Regions from separate parts of the Homo sapiens genome. Here region 1 is linked to region 2. The links are contacts of gene promoters, found by promoter capture Hi-C in blood cells and fetal thymus (Javierre and others, 2016). All regions are on one chromosome and are shown on one strand. The core of a region is centred on a gene start or on the middle of the fragment in contact, and the rest is flanking DNA. Distances in the headings are between cores, read along the strand shown.

Evidence for each region. The method cuts DNA at HindIII sites, captures the fragments that hold promoters and counts their contacts. A CHiCAGO score of 5 or more calls a contact.
Region 1: a contact is called between a fragment that was not itself captured here and the fragment with the promoter of TEX10 in region 2, in 1 of 17 cell types (total CD4 T cells). The highest score is 6.1, in total CD4 T cells.

Annotation. Positions count from the first base shown.
Region 1 is chr9:99,804,149-99,811,036 of GRCh38, forward strand. It overlaps LOC101928438 (a long non-coding RNA gene), which reads right to left. Exons shown (of 7, transcript NR_109802.1): 2 at 1,723-1,843. Among named protein-coding and RNA genes, the nearest start is that of NR4A3, 14 kb to the right of the region's middle. The HindIII fragment of the contact is 6,789 bases long and covers 2,046-6,888 here.
Region 2 is chr9:100,349,672-100,356,972 of GRCh38, forward strand. TEX10 (testis expressed 10) reads right to left here and starts at 3,271. Exons shown (of 15, transcript NM_017746.4): 1 at 3,101-3,271. It overlaps LOC105376177 (a long non-coding RNA gene), which reads left to right and starts at 3,379. Exons shown (of 4, transcript NR_188642.1): 1 at 3,379-3,910; 2 at 4,326-4,424. RefSeq lists enhancers at 2,510-2,559, 2,964-3,598 and a silencer at 2,900-3,449. The HindIII fragment of the contact is 13,255 bases long and covers 1-7,301 here.

The sequences.
Region 1 (6,888 bases), core at 4,190-6,689, 540 kb before region 2:
ATTTGGTGGAACTCTTGAGTAATCACCTCAATTCTTTCTGCCAAAGCAGTCAGTGACTGCCTTTTGGAGAAAATATCATATTTTTCACTTTATACTGATTTACTCCTTCTCCAATTTGTGTTCAAGATATTTGACCTCTGAAAGTTTAACAAGCACTTACTAAACAGCACCAACCAGAAATATTTTTAAAGTTCCTTTCTACCTACTAGCCAAAAATTCCCTAGCCCACTTGCCCATCTTCAAACAGAAGCATATCTCTTCAATCCAAAAGGAAGATACAGCATTAAACAGCATATAATGAATTTAGTGGGTTAAATGGTGGCTCCTGAAAAGACACATCCATATCCCAATCCCCAGACCCTGTGAATATTACTTTATTTGAAGAAAAGGTCTTTGCAGATGTAATTAAAAATTTTCAGGTGAGATCATCTTGGATTATCCAGGTGTACCCTAAATCCAGTGACAAGTAGATTCTCTTAAAGTCAGTCCTTAGAAGAAAAAGGCAGAGAGAGAGATTTGAGACACACAGAAGAGAAGACACAGAACAGAAAAGAAGGCTATAATGACCACAGAGGCAGAGACTGGAGTGAGGCAGCCACAAGTCAAGGAATGCCCCATACACAACAGAAACTGGAAGAGGCAAGGAACAGATTTCTCCCCCAAAGAGCCTCCAGAGGGAATGTGGCTCAGCCAACACCTTGATTTTGGACTTCTGGCCTCCAAAAGAGTTAAAGAATAAATTTCTATTGCTTTAAGCGACCTAGTTTGTAGTAATTTGTTACAGCAACCACAAAAAAGCAACACAGTGAGCAAAAGCATTTTGGTAGGGAGCCCTGGGTTCAAGTCCCACTCCTGTCATTTAGTCCCTATTTGCTTCAGTAAGTCTGTTAGCCTCTCAGAACCTCCAAACCTGTACTACTATTACCCTGAGTTCTTATAAGAATCAAAGGAGATCTTGTATATGAAAACATTCAGAGTATTATAAAGTCCCATACAAATATGAATTATTATTCTTATACTTTACCTGGAATTTCAAATGAGTTTGGAGCCTGGGCTCTTTAATCAAGTCCTTTTGTTACAACTCTTTACACAAATAATACCTGCCTAATTTCAGCAGTGCCAACATTGTATCAGTTATTATTATTTTAGAGATGGGGTCTTGCTCTGTCCCCCAGGCTAGAGTACAGTGGGGCAATCATATCTCACTGCAGCCTCAAACTCCTGGGCTCCAGCGATCCTCCTGGCTCAGCCTTCTAAGTAGCTGGGAATACAGGCACTCACCACCACATTGGGCTTGCTATTTATGTATTTATTTATGAGTGAATGAGAGGGGGGTCTCACTATGTTGCCCAGGCTGGTCTGGAACTCTTGGCCTCAAGCAATCCTCCCACCTCAGACTCCCAAGTCTCTGGGATTACAAGTGTGAGTCACCACAGGCCCCATATCAATTCTTAACATCAACTTTTATTTATAGAATTAAGCTGTCACTAATGTACACAGTATCTCTTTAGTACTAGGATTTAATGAAGTCTCATTACCACTAACCTTATCATCTATTTTACTTCCCTCCAGATATCCTCTATTATCACATCAATTTAGTAGCGAGATCATCTAATTGGTTTATTGGCCCCATTTACATTAACAAATCAGTTTTAACCAGTTTACTTTCAATAATATTTGTGAACTCCTTAACATAATCATATATTATTTCTCTAAACTAACCTTAATTATTCCATACTGAATTCTTCTCAGCCAAGAATGAACCATTAATAACTCTTCTTCCTATTTCTGGTTTTCCCCAACAGGTAGATTCTGATCTACTGCCAGACCTAGTTCTTCTTTCCTGAAATAAAGTATATTTATGAAGTACAATAATAAATTAAGGCTATCAGCTCCACAAGTTATGCACAAAAATTAATTTCGTAACTCTATAATCTCACTTCATCCACACACGAGTTTATATTTTCTATGGAATTTTTCCATTACTATTTCATAAGAAAGGCCACCAAACATACTCCAAGTTATGGAATGGCTGGTCAACTGCAAGCTTCAATTTTTTTCCTTCAGGGCAAGGAAGTTTGACATTAAAAATAAGGAAATGGCATATTGATAATGCAGTCTGATATAAGAATTTATTTTCTTATGCCTTTTAACCATTGAATTTGAATGGCATTCCAGTCTTAACTTAGATCTAACAGAGTATTATAAAAATATTATTCTCTGAAATTTTGCCTCTTCAGAAATCTTTAAACAAATGTAAAATAATCTTTCCCAAACAGAAGTTGAAACAGTAAAAACTTCAATGGACTTTGAGATTTGCAAATGTAACAATCACTTACAATCATTATCACTAACGATTTATATCCTTAAGATGAAACATCCTTCAAGAATGCATTAGGTGCACCAGGTGCAGTGGCTAATGCCTGTAATCCCAACACTTTGAGAGGCCAAGGTAGGAGAATCCCTTGAGCCCAGTTCACGACCAGCCTGGGCAACACAGGGAGACCTCATCTCTACAAAAAATGAATAAAATTAGCCTGGTGTGGTGGTGCACACCTGTAGTCCCAGCTACTCAGGAGGCTGAAGTGGGAGGACTGCTTGAGCCCAGGAGGTCAAGGCTGCAGTGAACCGAAACTGCACCATGGCACTCCAACCTGGGCAATAGAGTGAGGCCTTGCCTCAAAAAAAAAAAAAAAAAAAAAAAAAAAAAGCATTAGGTGCTCCTCCTGAGTCACTAAAGTATGGGTGATGTTATTTTAATATACTTAACTTCACTGCCTTTCCATAGGTAGCAATTAAATCATTCCCAAGATGCAAGTTAAACATTTGGTTCTCAGGATCACCAGTAAAAATTTCAAATCAAAACTTAGGAAATCCACAGCCACTATTTTGTACAAACATAGATTAATACTACTCTATGGCATAACCCACAACTTTAAATATTTATCCCCCTGTGAATGGGATTATAAAGGTACCTACTATATCATCTCAGACCCAATAAGAAGTTTAGCAACAAATGTCTCCTAATTTTCATGATCTCCATGTGGCCTATATAAAAGTAAACTGTGAACCTCTTCCAACAACAGTAGCCTCTACATTTTTTAACCAATTTCACATGAGACTGACAAGATACTAGTTATCCTGAGAAATGTGTTAAGTTTCCTGACAAATAAAGCCTGAACTAAGATCTCCCTTAAGTAGTCTAACTCTACAACCTCAGAATTCTTAAGAAACAAAAAATATCCTAAGAAGTTATCCATTCCCCTCATCCATCTTAGCAACCAAGTGGAGAATCTGGCCCCTCGCCACTAGAGGGGGGTGTTTCTTTTATTGGTTTCTCTTTCCCCCTAATTCGGCTGACCAGAATTTCTGGTTGAACTAGAAATAAGCCTCAAGATCAACATCCTGACCTTTATTTTTAATATCGTGTGGCCTTTTTTCTTTTTTTCAGGCCTAGTTAACACTAAAATATAAATTTCAATCCCTAATTACTTGTACTATTATGCCCCACATCATACTCCGTTGCCTTTCTACAAAGAGACTAACAAACTACACAATTTAGAGACTTTGACATTAGTTCACTGAAAATAAACAGAAAATCCAACCAAGTTTGAGTGTTTTTTTAAAAAAACCTTCTCATTTGCCAGGTTCATTATTTCATTTGAATCACTATAATACTATTTTAAAAATTAGACAGACAATAGCAACAAACTTTAAGGAAAAAATATACTTAAGAGACTTGCCCAAAATTTCAGGTAGCAAATGGCTAGGCCATAATGAAGACTCAAATGCTCTGACTCCTAGACCATTTCCAGTTCTATTATTCTATGCCATGAGTGAAAGGTACTAGATGAGAAGACCAAGGGGTGAACTACTCTTACTTTTTACTCTACCAGTCTAGAGCAAATAGATGTATGATTACTCATGTAACTCACTATTGCTCCTGGCAAATAACATATACCCATCTGCTTAGAATAGTCTCCACTGGCCACAAAATCAAGTCACAAGATGAGGAAGGAGTGGATGAAGGAGATAAGGGGAAAGAGTTGCAGAAGAGAAGAAAATAAATCTATCAAACAATCTTGAGGTCAGGCATGAGACACAAAATATACAAAAGTGAGGACCAAGATCTAAGCAAGAAATCAGAATCAGAATCAGAAAAAGAAGGAATGAACAACAAATGGTAGCAGTCACACCACCAGATATTCAAACAACCCAAAAGACTCTGGAAGAGACAATGAGTGCTGTTTGATTCCTTGCTGCTTCCTATGAAGATCCCTGGTCTAAGGCAGAGCCCCTTAGAAAAGATAGAGACAAGACCTGGCCAGTTAGAATCTGCATCCACTTTATGAAGGCAGAAGACATGGGGAGGGAAGAGCCCCAGCAAAAAGAAACCTATCCAAATAATATCAAATCCACCTGACGTGAATCTGCTTGGGACAAAGTAGGTATCACATCAGGATGTTTCTGGCTGCAAATGACAAATTCGCAGATCATGCCTACTTACACAATGAGGAACTGTATTATCTCACAGAACTGGAAGTTCAGAGGTAAGGCAGACCAAGTACAATACAATCAGCAATTCAGGAAGGTCATCAAGGGCTCAGGTTTCTTCCATCTGTTCTGTCATCATCTAGATCAGCTGCACCCCCCAAAGCTAGTTTCCCTCATGGTCCCAAGATGGATAGAGCAGTTCTAGCCACTATACTCAAACATAAAATCACAGGGAGATGAGGCATCATCTCTTTCTTTTCTCTCTGTTTAGAATCAATAAATCCTTTCCCAGAAGCACTCAAGCCGTCTGTAGACTTTTCCTTCATCTCTCATTGGCCAGAATAGGTTACAGGCCATTCCTAACTCTTCACCGGCAAGGGAAATGGGATTAACCATGACTGCTTAGACAAATCACCTGCGGTGGGATGAATACTGGGGAGTCAATCACCATGACCATACCATGGGCAATTTATACTGATGAGTATTATTATGACATTGTTTTCACTCCATAACAAATCTATAATGTGATTATGCTGCTTCAATGATCTTAACTACAAGGCATGTGCTTTGCCTGAAATCCAGATAATTACTCTTTGCTCACATCCCATATTTTTCAACATGAACTTATTTATCAGATAGAAAACATTTTATTAAAACTTTCCCAGTCAGGCCAGGCATGGTGGCTCACACCTATAACCCCAGCACTTTGGGAGGCCAAGGTAGGAGGATCCCTTGAGCCCAGGAGTTTGAGACCAGCCTGGACAACATAGGGAAACCCCTGTCTCTACAATTAAAAAAAATTAGCCCGGTGTGGTGGCATATACCTGTAGTCCCAGCTACCTGAAGCCAGTAGGATCGCTTGAGCCGGGAGGTCAAGGATGCAATGAGCCATGGTCTTGCCACTGCTCTCCAGCCTGAACAACAGATCAAGACTTTGTCTCAAAGAAAAACAAACAAACAAAAACTTTCTTGGTCAATCCACTGTAAAAAAAAAAAAACAAAAAACAATAACTTTAATGTAACATCTTAGAAGCAAGAGTAGTAACTCATTTGTCTCCCACAGCAACTACAGTGGATACAGCCACCTAGAACCCAACCTTGAGAAAGACTTAAAGCTGAGTCTGGATCTAGTGAGAAATAGTGCCATGACTGATTAGTGAGTCTATCATGACTCAGGTTCAGGCACAACACATAGCACATATTTGCCAACCCTGTTTTAGAGAAAATCTCCTAATTTCCCTCCACTGATAATGGAGTTCTCTGCTGCAATGCCTCTTTATTCTTATTTTAATGGAGACCCAATATAATCCCTCCCATCTCTTCACTCTATCTGATTTGCATACATATACATATAACATATATCAAGCATGAACTCCAAAAAAATTTTTATATATAACCAGAGAGTTCCACAGGAATTCTGGAACCAGGCCTCTTTAGTAACCATAGAAAGGCTTGGCAGAATGGTTTCATTTACAAAGTGTCTCACTTAAAGCAGGCAGGGGGGCCTTGAGAGCCCAGGCTGGATGCAGGCCTAGGCAGGATTGAGGGACAGAAGGGAAAAGAGAAAGGCAATCTATTCCCAGCTAAAGGTAGCCTGGCCCACAGTTGCACAAAGGAACCAAAATCTGATTCTCAACAAAAGTGACTAACCAATAACTGGAGAATGCTTAAATAAATTATGGCAAATTACAAACTATAGGTAGAGTTTATGTGTATAAAATGCACTTAGAAGGATAGGGAAGGACAACAGTGGTTATTCCTGGGTGAATTAATTTATAGCTTTTTTCTTTTTTCCTTCTAGTCTTTATCTACATTTTTCTGAATGTCCTGTACTGCATATGCACAGCCTTTTTTATGAGGGGAAAAGAAAAATAATACAGGAAACATGTTTTTATCTTATCACTGGGTGTTTTGTTTGTTCCAATTAACCTCTTATTGCCTTTTAGTTAAGATTACTCTTGTCCAACTATTCTCCTATTACTGGGTAGCTAGGTTGCTTTAACTTTTTGAAATCACAAGCAATCAAATGCTGCCATAGCTGAAAGTTAACTTGAACTGTAAAAGAAAAATACTGGAAAAGTCCCTAGAAAATGGACCAAAAGTATCTAATCATTTTACACTGAAATTACCACTACTCAAAAACTATTAACAGGATATTCATTTTGACCAACTCATTGTTTTGACGAAATCATTGTTTCAATTAATAGCTGATTACAACAAATCAGTTAACCAACTTGCTTTCAGCTAAATTGTACTTGACCACATTGCTTTTGGCCAAAATAACTTTTAAGTCAAATTGGTACTGGACAAAGAGGGTACTACCAGCATCAGGCGGCAAGTCTGAAGGCAGAGATAAGAAACAGGATCAAAAGGTAAGCCTCAATAATAAAGAAT
Region 2 (7,301 bases), core at 2,021-4,520:
TTTCCTTTGTTCGAGTGTAGGAGAGCAGCACAGACTTCCTAGAGATGTAACTTGTATCTGCTGGTGTGCTCCTGGGCTTCGTAAGAGCCTCGGAGGAACTTCTCTAGCAATACCAAACAAAGTTGGAAAACCAATGTTATTCTTTAATGCAGCCTATAACCATTAGAAAAAGATTTATGAACCTAAGCTGAGCATGTGAAAAATGGGTAATATTCAAATACACAGCAAGGAGAATAATAGGCCTTTCAAGAGCAAGGAAAACAAGGTAAAGATCAGGTGTAGGGGATAAACCTAGCACAGCAAAAGTGAATAAACCTCAGACTAAACAGAAAACAGTATTCCCCCTTGGTCCCCAAAAAGGATAAAAAGCAGCATAAAAAGAAATATAATGTAATAGGGGGATAAGGAACAAAGACCAGCTAAGCCACTATTATAATAAATAACTCAGGCATAACACCATGCCATCTTGTACTTCCTCCCCCTCTATACCACATTCCAAACCTTGCACTTACACATGAAATCTTTGATCTGTGTCTCTTACCCATTTCCAGGCCACTACTTTCAAGAAGTCCTTTATTTCTACCATTCAATACCTTCCCCACTGGTACTCCTGCCTACTATCTAGTGTCTCCTCTCTAGTCCACTGGCCCTTTACGAAACAGCTCTCTCTGAACACAGATCTCATGACCAAGACTCAAGAGTTCTCAGCTGTTCTATTCCTCATACATAGTAAAACCTCCTTAGCAGGACATATGAGGTCCTTCCTAATGTGGCCCCATCCATCCTCTCCAGCTTTATCTTCCCACAAGCTAATCTCTATCTAAAACAATAGCCTCTTCTACCTGGAACCAGCTAAATTCTTCTTGAAGCCTTTTCCACACCTGAGAACAATACTGTACACCACTTGAATAGGGTAAGTACCTCTGGAATATATAAAACTTCTGCTAATCTCCTGGTTTATCATAATTATCCTGTGCCTGGCCATAAAAAGTGACAATGCTACACATGAGGGTATAAAAAAATGGGTAAAACGAAAGTTTCCTTTATTACAATATTAATAAAATGGCCAGTGCAATACTGAACAGCTCAAGTTCAAGGAATTCAGAAGCCAATCAGCTATGACAATATATCCAAATTTACTTAATTACAGGGTTATATTAGATCGCCATGAGGTAGGATTTCCCACAGGTTAAGAACCAATTCTACAACCAGATTGATTAGGCTTTTATCCAAACTCTGACGCCTTCCAGCTGTACACTGTCCCAATTTCTATCTACAAAATAGGGATAATCATACACAATTGTAAAACACTCAGAACTGTGCCTGGTACATGGTTAAATACGTATGCTCAAAGCATAAACATGTGCGTGTCCCTCAAGTCTCAGGATCAGGACATACCAAGCCCGGTACTAGATGCATTGTGTACCTCAGTATACAATCTGCACAGAACCATGCAAGGTAGGTGGAACTAAACCCATTTTAACAATGTACCTCAGAAAAGTTTGGAAGTCACGCCTTTATCAAGAAGTTGAAAAGGGATTCATTCACAGAACTGAGCTCTGCAAAACCACCTTTAACATACCAGAATTAACCTGAAGACTGGAAGTCTTCGTGGCAAAACAGTTTGGCTTATTTCATTTGTCCCTATTACCAAATTTTCATCTCACCCACACCTCTAGTTACCTTAGTCTTAAAAAACAAAACAAAACAAAAAAAAAAGCTGGGGGTCGGTGGGTGGGTGGGTGGGAGGGAATAAGGCCTAAAAAGAAGGCCATGATACTCACCTGGCCTCTTTTAATACAAAAATGGTTTTCATTAATTAAGCAAGCACACTTTGTGAGCTTTTCCTACAATTTTATTACTAGCTGGTACTAGACACGAAAGTAAATGGTACAGGACATTCAGAAAAATTAACTCCCTTCCTCCTCCACTCCTGTGGGTTCTATTTAGCCATTAACCACCTGATAGATCTTCAACAGTCTACTGTCAACTTCATGCCATATTATCTATCGCTTTGTATTAGTCACATTAATGCTTTCTCTGTTAGGAAAATTAAGAAGGCTGATTGACCTTCCTTGACTTTTCAAACCTAGTAATATTATTACGGGATACAAAGCATTTTCATGCGAAGAACTCTCAAAGTTCTACTAGTAATTGACTTTAACTTATAACAAAGATTTTCATAACACAGCAAATCAAAAAGTCCCACTAAGCCACTTTTACAGTAGCCGGTTTTTAGCAAAAGGTAGGAACGCCAGTCTCAGAGGAGGAGCTCACATCACTAGTCCTTAGGTTTGCGATCCCCAATAGTTTCAAAGCTGAATGTCACACATTCCTACTGTAGGTCTTTTCTAATTCCAACAAAAGGCAGATCCTAGCGTTTTTAGGATTTCAATCGAACTAAATTCCAACTATAAATAGTTTGCCTGCCACCTTCTTACCCTTCCTCATTTCCACCTTCTTTTCCAAAAAAAATCAGAGAGAACGATCGTACTGCACTCGGCCTTTGATAATTTCCTCCCCAAACCCTTAAACTCATGAGTTCCTCCAAACTCCACTGAGGGGCCAACCAGAGGCGACAGACTTCCCAAAAAGCAAATGGCCCAGGCAGGGGCGACCCCAGAAAACTGGTAGTCCCCTTCCGCTCGCTTAACTCTCCCGCCTGGGCGACCAGAGGACGGAACAGGGGACGCCAGCTCATCCCCACTCCGTATTCGGTCCTGCATCCATCCCAGAGGCGAACACACCATGGGTTTTAGGAAACCATCGTTCCTCCTACTCCAAGGGACGCCGGCCAGGACCAGAGTCGGGGAAGTGGGGCCCGATTCACACACTCCGGGCTAAAACTCTCTCGGACCCGAAACCAGGCGAACCCGCCCAGTCACCTGAAGCTCCGCAAACGCCCTAGGGGGTCCCGCCCCCGCAGTGCCGGCCGCACACCCAGGCCCAGCTCGGAGGGACGCCGCGGCCCAGACCCGGGGGACGCAAATCGTGCACGGCCGACCCTGCCCGCTTGGGCCGCGGATCGGGGGGCGACGGCCCCACCACGCTCAGTCCCGCGCCCCGGGAGGACCCGGCCCGACGGGCGACGGCCGCTTACCTGAGGACCCGGCCGCGGCCGGGGCGAGAAGCCCGAGAAGACAAGCGAGGGAGCAGAAGCCCACGGGGCAACAGCGTGCGCCGCCGACCTCAGGCTCTAGCTCCCGGAGCGTGTTTTCAAATAGCCTCGTCCTCACGCGGCCGCGTCTCCTTCCGCCGCCCGGAAATCAGGGCCCCTCCCCCTCCCTGCTGTGCTCACGTGATCGCAGCCCGCAGCCGCGCGCAACCGGGGAGGCGGGAGCGGGAGCGGTAGGCCCCGCCCACAGAGGAGGGTACCCCGCCGGAAGCCCCCTGCTCTGTGGGAACCGGAGGGAGGACAGCGCGAGGTCCCCGGACAAAGCGTGGCGCATAAGTCCGGCCCGTAACTTGGTGGGCAGGCAACTTAGGGGATGTGGGCCTGGTTATAGCTGAGCATGCTTTTCTATTCCTCCCAGACCACAGTTCTTCAGACCTGGAGCCACTTTCAGAGAAGAGTATAAGTTGCACTGAATTGAAAAAGGGAAAAGTTTAGGACTGCAGAAGATGGAATTCCTGGGGACGTTAAACTGGGCTAAGATGGAGCAGATAAGATTTCCTTAATTAGAGCAAGACACACCTAGTATCTAGAGCCTGGAAGTCTTGGTCAAGGATTCTCCCTAACATCTCAGTTTCTCAGCACTAACATTCCTGCTACTAAAATGAAGTGAGAAATTAATTTCTGAAGTTAAGTAAAGAAATAAACTAAAATTCCTAGAAAAGAGGTAAGAAGAATGAGCCTTTGAAAAATGTCTTCACAAAGACTGGCATGATGGCATGGAAGAAAGAGCCCCAGGTAAGGACTTCAGACCTTGATTCAAATTTGTGTCTACACCTCACCAGATAATTAAGACTTAGTAAAGCTAGCGAAGATATTGACCCTCATTATATTGGGTGGGAATTCAAAGGAATGATGTCTAAATCCAGGGAGACCCAAGCACTGGAACTAAAACCATGCCTGTTCCATAATCGGAGATAAAGAGGCAGCGCTAGAAACCCTGACCTCCCTTTGCTGGCAATATGGCCACATCACCACAATCTGCCTGGAATCGACCATAACCATAAATATTTGGGAGTCATTGGCATTATGTGGCATTATATTCTGTTTAAAGCTATGAGACTAGATCAGAAGAGGAAAGATTTATTGCCAACCAGACAAGTCCCTGGAACTCCAAACTTGTATCCAACAGTTTTTTCAATGTTTCCTTCAGATATCCAGTATACATCTCAAGGTCAACTTGTCCAAAACAGAGCTACTGATGATTTTCCCCTTGAAATCTACTCTTCCTACAGCTTATTCATCTCAAATAGTAAGTCTGTCCTTGCAGTTACTCAAGCAGAAACCTTTGGGTTTTTGGTTTGGCCTCTTTGTTCCACACCTCACATCTAATCCATCTGGAGATTGACTCTACCTTTAAAGACATCCTAACTTTCACCAGTTAACACACCTCCCCTGCTACCATTCTGGTCCAAGCCGCTTCTTGATCACTGCAAAAAGCCTGCAAACACATCTTCCTGCTTCCCTTATTGTCCTTCTTCCCCCTACAGTCTGGTATCAGCAGAGCAGCTGTGTGATTATTTTAAGATCTAGGTTAGATCAGATCACTCTTTGGCTCAAAACCCTTTAATGGCTCCCTATTTCACTTCGAGTAAAACCCAGAGTCCTTTCTAGGGCCTTCCCTTAGGCTGTTCTTGCATGGCTATAAAGAAATACCTGAGACTGGGTAATTTACAAAGAAAAGAGGTTTAATTGGCTCATGATTCTGCTGGCTTTACAGGAAGCATTATGTTGGCATCTGCTTGCTTTTGGTGAAGTCTCAGGGAGCTTTCAATCATAGAAGGTGAAGGGGGAACAGGCATGTCACATGTTGAAAGCAGGAGCAAGAGAGAGAGCAAAAGAAAAGAGACAGAGAGAGAGAGAGGTGCCACACATTTTTAAACAGCCAAATCTGATGAGAACTCACTATCACTAAACAAGCACCAAGCCATGAGGGATCCACCCCCATGACCCAAGCATGTCCCACCAGGCCCCACCTCCAGCATTGAGGATTACAACACAACATGAGATTTGAGCAGGGACAAATATCCAAACCATATCAGTTCTCAAGCTCTTCCATATTCTGACACAGTCTCTTACCATCTGAGCACTCCTCCTTCCACTCTCCCCTTTTTTACTCTGCTCCAGTCACACTTGCTTCTTTGCCTTCCTCAAACACCAGTGACACACTCCTGCTTTTGGACCTTTTCTTTAGCTTTTCTGTCTGCCTGAAACACTCTTCCCCAATAAGTCCATGTGGCTAACTCCCTCTCCTCCCGAGTCCACTCAAATATCTTCTCAGGGAGCCCTACCCTGACCACCTCATTTAAAATAACAAATTACCTTCTCCCAGGACTTGCAATTTCCCTTTAGAACATATCACCTTCTGGGAACATCACACTCTGGGGACTGTTGTGGGGTGGGGGGAGGGGGGAGGGATAGCTTTAGGAGATATACCTAATGCTAAATGACGAGTTAATGGGTGCAGCACACCAGCATGGCACATGTATACATATGTAACTAACCTGCACATTGTGCACATGTACCCTAAAACTTAAAGTATAATAATAATAAAATAAAAAAGAACATATCGCCTTCTAATATACCATGTAATTTACTTATTTATCATAATGATTATTTGATTCTGTCCTTCATCCACCACTAATATGTAAGTTTTACATGGGTCGTTTGTTTTATTCCCTGGTATATTCCAAGTAGCTAGAGCAGTGTCTGGCACCTAGTAGGCCCTCAATAAATATTTGTTGAATAAATGTCTAGGAAGCACCTGCTACATAGCGGTGCTGAGCAAACACTAGCTCTTATTGTTTCCCTACTTCACTGCAGCACAGGGTTTATAGACTCAGCCCATTAAGTGGGTCTGGTGGCTATGTAGCTGACAGAAGTACTCCTGGCCTGACTAAAGGAAGCAGCAGATCTTCAGCAACAGTCAACTGTTGTCATGAGGAAATGCAAATCTTCTCATTTTTCAAGCAAACCGGAAATCCAGTGTTTAAGTCCATTCTCTGCTGCTATAACAGAATACCACAGACTGGGTAGTTTACAATGAACAGAAGACTATTTGGCTAATGCTTCTGCAGCTGAGAAGTCCAAGAGTGTGGCATCAGCATCTGGTGAGGGTCATCCATACCATGACAGAAGGGTAGAAGGCAGAAGTGAGCTCTAGAGACAGAGAGAACAAATCAGGTTGAATTCATCCTATTTGTCAAGAGCTCACACCCAGGATAACTAACCCACTCCCACAATAACAATTATCTATTCATGAGGGCAGAGCCCTCATAACCTAATCACCTCTTAAAGGTCCGGCTTCTCAATACTGTTAGAGTGGCAATTAAATTTCAAAATGAGTTTTGGAGGGGACATTCAAACCATAACATCCAGAAATGTTTATAAGAAATCTGCTCTTTAAATATTGGCAAGTACATTTTTCCCCCTATTTTCGAAACACTGTGTAGGCCAAACAAAATACTTATTGCCAGTTGCCAGTTTACTGTCTCTGGTTTAGGACATAAAAAGTTTGTACTTGAAGACAGGCTTTTTCCAACTCTTAAGTGATGAACGCAACAATTGTAAGGATTGATCACTTCCCGAGCTTGAAGAGATCTTTGATAAATAACAAGCATGTAATTAATCAAGGTCCTTCACCCATGCCAGAAAAACATTATTTACAACGAACATACATTCTGGAATGTGTAGGACACTCCAATTCCAAAACTCTGTCCAGTTGGCCACATAGGTGCTGTGTTTAGTTTCCGCAGCCATAACAAAGTACCACAAACTGGGTAGCTTAAATAACAGAAATTTCTGGATCTCAGTTCTGGAGACCATGGAATCTGAAATCAAGGTATCAGCAGGATTGGTTCCTTCTGAGGATTCTGAGGAAGATTCTGTTCCACACGTCTCTCCTAGCTTCTGGTAGCTTTAGACATTCCTTGTAGACATTCCTTCTGTGTCTTCACATTGTCTTCCCTTGTGTATATCTGTCTGTGTTCAAATTTACTCCTTTTATAAGAACCCCAGTCATAGGGGCTGCCCTAATTACCTCATTTTAACTTGATCACTTCTCTAAAGACCTTATTTCCAAATAAAGTCACCTGAGGTACTAGGGGGTAGAACTTCAATATATCTTTTT